2 separate regions of the Homo sapiens genome follow, and region 1 is linked to region 2. The links are contacts of gene promoters, found by promoter capture Hi-C in human tissues and cell types (Jung and others, 2019). All regions are on one chromosome and are shown on one strand. The core of a region is centred on a gene start or on the middle of the fragment in contact, and the rest is flanking DNA. Distances in the headings are between cores, read along the strand shown.

Region 1 (3,341 bases), core at 499-2,998, 1.0 Mb after region 2:
AAGGAAAGAAGGAGAAAATATTCTTCGAACACTTATAAAGATAGGTACGCTAATATGGAAGTACTGACATAATCAGCAGTAAATATAACATCATAGACTACTCATTTAAAATTATTTTTGAATATTCCACTTGCAGAAATATGAAATAGTCGTATTTTTTCTATTCCTCCTGCTAAGAGCAGATCAAATTCCTGCACATTACATATAAAGCAAACTTCAAAAGACTCTAAAAGTTGAAGAGAAGAAAACAGACCACCAGCAGGACCTTAGAACCCCAGGAAACACACAGTGGTGGTTTTTGTTGGTGGTGGTGATTTATTTATTTGGTTTTTGCCTCATATATACTAGACTTGTTACTAGAGAAGCCAGAAACCCAGAAATATCCATGGGCACACAGAAAGAAACAGAGAGGAAAGCTTGTTCCCCATAGACAAAGACCAGAGGAGGCACTGCTTAATAAGAGTGAAAACTCTTAAGTGAAACTCATTTTATTCCAGCCAAATACCACAAAAATCCGCAGCCCACTCCCACCCCTGCCAGCACACGGAAAGTTTGGACTTCCATCATGACAGAGCCATAATGAGGCACCCAAACCCTGTTCCATGATGTTGCCTAGGAAAGCCAAATGGTGAGTCTGTACTTCCAGCTCACCCACGGTAACAAAGAAACCTTCCCCTCCCCACAGTCATGGTATCAGAAGTGACCTCCTGGACAGTCAGGATTTTTATCACTAAACAATAGGAACAAAACCATCCCACCATAATGTCAGTGAAGGCCATATAGCATGCAGACACAAGCACACTGTCCCTCCCAGCCAGGTTAGGTATCAGCAAGACCTAGTGGGGAGTTTGAGCTCCCAACCACATTTAGCACTAATGAGATGCCTTTACCTCTTCCTCTATCAACAGAGACCAAGTGGGGAACTTGGACTTCCACCCTACCTGGTTGTAATGAGTGGCATCCCCACCCTTCCTTCCTGTGCCATAGAAGTGTCAGAGAAGGTCTGCTAAAATAGGAGACTTAAGTGGAATCCAGAGACTCATAACATACTACACAAATGCTTAGGTTGTAACCAATACTTATTCATCATAGGAAAACCAAGAATATCTCAATTTCAATAAGAAAATACAATCAATAGACACCAATACTGAGATGGTACAGACATTAGAATTACCTGTGAAAGATTTTGAAGTAGTCATCCTAATAATGCTTCAATGAGCATGTACATTTTGAAAAAAATTAAGAAAGTCTCAGCAAAACAAGAGAACATATACAGAAGGACTAAACGAAAACTGTAGAACTGAAGAAAACAACTAAAATTTTAAAACTGAATGGATAGACTCAACAGCAAAATGTAAGGGACAGAGGAAAGAATCAGTGAACTGGAATATAAAACAATAGAAATTATTCCACTGGAACAACAGAGAAAAAGCAGCCTGAAAAACAAAGAGCCTGTTGCTATCACTAAATAGCTAATATTCATGGCGCCAGAGTCTGGGAAGGAGAGGAGAGAGAAGGTAGAGTTTACTCGATAAGATAATAACTGAAAAATATCCCAAAGTTGCACAGACATAAACCTATGGATTCAAGAAGCAGAGAAAATTCCCAAACAAGACAAACCCAATGAAATCCATGAGAAGATATATCATAGTCAAAATCTGAAAACTAGAGTCAAAAAAAAAAGCAGCAGGAGTGAAATGACATCTTACATAAAGGGGAAAAACAATTGAAAAGATAGCAGATTTCTGATAAGAAACCATGTAGTCCAGAAGAAATTGCTATGACATTTTTCAGGTTCTGAAAGAAAAGAACTGTCAACTCATAATTCTATATCCAGGAATGATGGAGAAACTAAATACTTTCAGATGAAAAATAGCTAAAAGAATTTGTTGCCAACAGATCTCTCCCAAGAAAATGTCTATAGGAAGTTCTTTTTCTTTTTTTTTTTTTTTTTTTTTTTTTTTTTTTTTTTTTGAGACGGAGTCTCACTCTGTCGCCCAGGCTGGAGTGCAGTGGCGCGATCTTGGCTCGCTGCAAGCTCCGCCTCCTGGGTTCACGCCATTCTCCTGGCTCAGACTCCCGAGTATCTGGGACCACAGGCACCCGCCACCGCGCCTGGCTAATTTTTAGTAGAGACGGGGTTTCACCGTGGTCTCGTTCTCCTAACCTCGTGATCCGCCCGCCTCGGCCTCCCTAAGTGCTGGGATTACAGGCGTGAGCCACTAAGCCCGGCAGGAAGTTCTTTAAACAGTATACAATGTACAGTTCACTCAAACTGGTAAAATGACATCACCCGTAGACTTTAAGTTATGTATATAATGTAATGCCTAGAGGAACCACTAAAGAAGGCATGCAAAGAAATCACTAAAAAACTATAAATAAATAGAAATGGAATTCTAAAGAGTTTTCAAGTTACCCATGGAAAAGTAGAGAGAAGACAACAGAGAAACAAAACCAAGAGAGACAAACAAAAAGTAAAATGACAGACATATGCCCTAACACATAAGTGATTATATTAACTGTAAGTGGTCTAAGTATACCAAGTAAGACTGAGATTTTCTACCTTTTATGACATTATGAATGGACCTGGACAACACTATGCTAACTGAAATAAGCCACATAAAGAAAGACAAGTACTACATGACCTCACTTATATGTGAAATCTAAAATAGTCATACTTATAGAAACATAGAATACAGTGATGACTTCCAGGGGCTAGAAGGAGGAGGAAATGGGCAGGTGATGGTCAAAGGACACAAAGTTTCAGTTATGCAGGATAAATAAGTTCTGAAAGTCTACTATATAGCATAATACCTATAGCTAGCAATACTGTATTGTATACTTAAAATTTGCTTTAAAAATTATAATGATAATAAAAGGGGCATGAAGACATTTTGGGGGGTGATGGATATGTTTATAGCCCTGACAGTGATGATAGTTTCACAGGTGTGTATTTATCCCCAAACTCACCATGTTGTACACATAAAATATGTAAGCTTTTTACATGTCAATCATACCTTAATAAAGTTACTTTAACAAAAATGACAGAGATTTCCAGAGTAGGCTAAAATACATGGCCCAACCATATGGTGTCAACAATGAATTCACATTTAGTAAAACAGTGTAAGCAGGATGAAAGTAAAAGGAAAGATATGCCATCCAAACATCAATCAAAAGGAATCAGGAAGTGGCTATATTCATATCACATAAAGTAGATTTCAGAATAAAGAGAATTACTAGGGACAGAAAGGGACACCACCAGTAAATATGTAATGATATACTAATGTATACTGTGTAATATACTGATAATTTTCCTGGTAATCACATATATGTGTGTAATG
Region 2 (3,110 bases), core at 346-2,845:
TTCCCCGCGTCGCCCGCTCCCGCTCCCCCCGCCTCCCCGGCGCCGGCGCAGCCCCCGCGAACCCGGGCGCACCACCCCGGGTGTCCCGGCCTGGGGACCGCTGCCGCCCCGGCCGCTGCTCCTTTAATCTTTTTGTTTTGGTTTGAATCTGCTCGGCGCAGACTGGCCAAGGATCCTCTCCGCCCTCCCCCTTCCTCCTGGCGCGGGAGAGGCACCGGATATCCCCACCCTCCCCGAGCTCTAAAAGCCGGATTTGACTCCTCTCGGGCAAGGGTGGCGGGGGGGACGGCGGGCAAGGGGGGACGGGGGACTCGCGCGTCCCGCGGTCGTCTGCGGCCCCGAGCCGGCGGCAGCCCCGGGCGTCCCCGGAGCTGCGCGGCGGCCGGCGCAGGCGCCTCCCCTTCCCGTGCGAAGCGTTCACTTCCTTGCAAGGTGGTACGAATCAACCCCGAGCGCGGCCCGGGCGGCGGGGCACGACCGGGGACCCCGGGCAGGGCGGGGAGCCCCTGCCGCCGCTGCCGCACGCGCACCCGTACCGACCGCGGGGCGGGGAAATGTCCAGTGCCTCCCGCTCCCCAGGCTGGTGGCTTCCTGTCCCCGGAACCCCTTGCGCGTGCTTTCTGTCCACGGTCTGTCCCATGCAAGTTGCAGGAACTAAGCCATTTTATTTATTTTGGCCTAGATTTCATGTTTTTCCATGAATGTTTTAAGTAGATCTACAAGACTGTTACAGGTTTCCCATTGGGAGAGAACACACATATAGAAAACCAGAAGGCCAAATTCCCAGAGCACAGACACATTTTAAAGTTCTACGTGGGGATGCCGAGGGACTTAACTGAATTGGAGACGTTGCACTGCTGTGTGAGGACCTCATTTTCGAACCCAGCTAGAAAGATCTGTCGTTCCATCGTGTCCGTTTTCTCCCTACTGGCGTGCATGGACCAAATGTCAATTCACTTTTTATAGAGGGGCCAAATTAAATATTTCCACACTTTTCTGTGATGAACTAAGTCCATCTTTACATTTTTATTTAAATTGTAAAATTTAATTTTAAAAATATCTTGCTTTTCAGTTACCCACGAATTACCAAAATATAAAAGCTACTCTGGGCTCCTCCCCAGCCAAATCTAACCCCCCAACCTGAGATTGCAAAAGCGACACAGATATTTTTCCCCCCAAATGTAGGACATGCTTCACCCAAGGGTAGTTTGGATGCACGTGGTTGCGTGTGTATGAATGTGCAAGTGTGTGTATGTGTATGTGTGTGTGTTGGGGGGGAACTAACAGGTTTAAAAATCTGCAGGAACTAATGTCTACTTAACTTAGAGCATATGGGTTTTACCCGGTATCAGCCAGTGGGTTACAATAACAACACTGAATGAATTCCTCCAATGTACAATCTTTTATGTTATGCTGTATTAAGATTTCTTTTTTTTGTCATATTGTTTAGCTCCGAAAAAAAGAAAACAAAGCAATTAAAAAGATTGACAGGTATGGTTTGTGAGAGACCTATTTGTAATTGTCAGGGTGACGTTGGCGAGAGGAGGAGGAGTAAAAACTGAAGCAGGAAAAGCAGCTCGATGTGTCTGTCTATCAGTTGAGACTGTCTGAAAGCTCTGCGATCCGAATGTGTGTTATATTTCACTGAAAAGAGGAGAGAGCGAGAGTGCATCTCCCTCTCTCCCAGGAGTTTGAGGGGGGGGGGGACAGTCCACGCTCATCTCGCCCACCCAGTGAATGTCTGCTCTTCACCCCCTTTGCACACACTCTCCGGGTTGTTGTTGCCTTTTTTTTTTCTTGGAGGGGGGGGTGCTTTTTGTGTATTTTTCAAATTTTTTTCTGTTGGAAGATCAAGACCGGCCAAAAATCCATGATCAAAATGTGTTTGCATTAGATTTCGCATTGGAAGAAGCGGCGATCCTGGCGGCCAAGCCCCCCGGGTGGAAGCGCGGGGCACCAAGTGGCGCTCCGGCGGGGTGACACTGTTTGATCTGTGACTGTTTGGAAGGTGGAGCAGCGCCTGACATCTCCCCCCGGCGCATGTATGTACGGGGGCTTCACTCCTCTGTCTTGTTTGCTTTCTTCCTCTTAGACTAAGTGCGGGGAGGAAAAGGACAGCCTGCATCGGCCTCGCTGGCGCACAATGAGAAAGCTGCGACCCGCGCACTAAAAACACTCGCCGCGACCCCCAAACAGCGAGGAGAGAGGGGGAGAGAAAGTTGCGCTCGGCGACTCTCGGCTCGCGGAAGAAGGCGCAGGGGAGCGCCCGGAGCGGCGCGCCGGGAGGAGCGCCCGCCCAGCAGCAGCGCGGCGGCGGGGAGGCGGCAGCATGGAGCGCGGGCCGCGGGCCGGCCCGCCGAGCGCCCGCTGCTGCGCCCGCGGCCCGCGCCGGGGATGACTCCGGGCTCGGCGCCCAGGCCCCGCGCGCTCCGCCCGCAGCCCGGCGCCGGGAAGCGGGCCGCGCGGCCGCCGCCGCCGCCTCCTGAGCGGCCCCGGGCGCGGCGGTCCATGCGAGCGGCTCCCCGCGGTCCGCGGCGCGCCCGGAGCCCGGAGCCCGCGGGGACGAGGCCAAAGTTGGGCGCGCCGCGGAGTTGCGCCCGCGCCCGGGGCCCCGCGTCCCCGCGCCCCGCGAACTCCGGCGGCGGCTGAGGCGACGGCTGCGGCGGCCGAGCAGCATGCCGAGGAGGAAGCAGCAGGCCCCCCGGCGCTCGGCAGGTAACGGGCGCGCGGCCCGCGCCGCGGGGAGTGGGCGCCGGGAGGAGCAGGAGGAGGGGGCTTCGCGGGCCGAGGTGCGGGACGTGGGCCGCGGGCCGCCCCAAGCTGGGGAGGGGAGGCCCAGCCTGCGCTGGCCACAGTCGTCTGGAGGCTGCGGTCGCCGTCCTCCCCCACACCCCCAACCTGGGCCGGCGCGTGGAGCAGAGAAAGTTCGCGGTGCTTCTCTGCGCTGCGGGAAGCCCGGATGGCCGGGGGAGGCCGGGGGCCGCGGGACGGCGGGTGCTTCTGGCTACCTCAGGAGGGGGCGTGCGCTGAGGGGAAGTAGTTGCTCCTTGGCTGCCGGAGCGCACTGGAAAAGTCCTCCAAAGGCGGGGAGGCTGAACCTGACACTTGAA

Evidence for each region. Contacts are between HindIII fragments. The study calls those that stand out against the background at their distance.
Region 1: a fragment that was not itself captured here is called in contact with the fragment with the promoter of TSHZ1 in region 2 in 1 of the 25 tissues and cell types used here (dorsolateral prefrontal cortex).

The regions. Positions count from the first base shown.
Region 1 is chr18:76,236,571-76,239,911 of GRCh38, forward strand. The region is part of intron 1 of LOC105372210 (a long non-coding RNA gene); the gene reads right to left. The region is part of intron 1 of LOC105372209 (a long non-coding RNA gene); the gene reads left to right. Among named protein-coding and RNA genes, the nearest start is that of LINC01893, 29 kb to the left of the region's middle. The HindIII fragment of the contact is 3,834 bases long and covers 1-3,341 here.
Region 2 is chr18:75,209,202-75,212,311 of GRCh38, forward strand. TSHZ1 (teashirt zinc finger homeobox 1) reads left to right here and starts at 1,596. Exons shown (of 2, transcript NM_001308210.2): 1 at 1,596-2,715. The coding sequence starts at 2,676. RefSeq lists enhancers at 1-373, 1,413-1,707 and silencers at 1-652, 2,590-2,909. The HindIII fragment of the contact is 23,508 bases long and covers 1-3,110 here.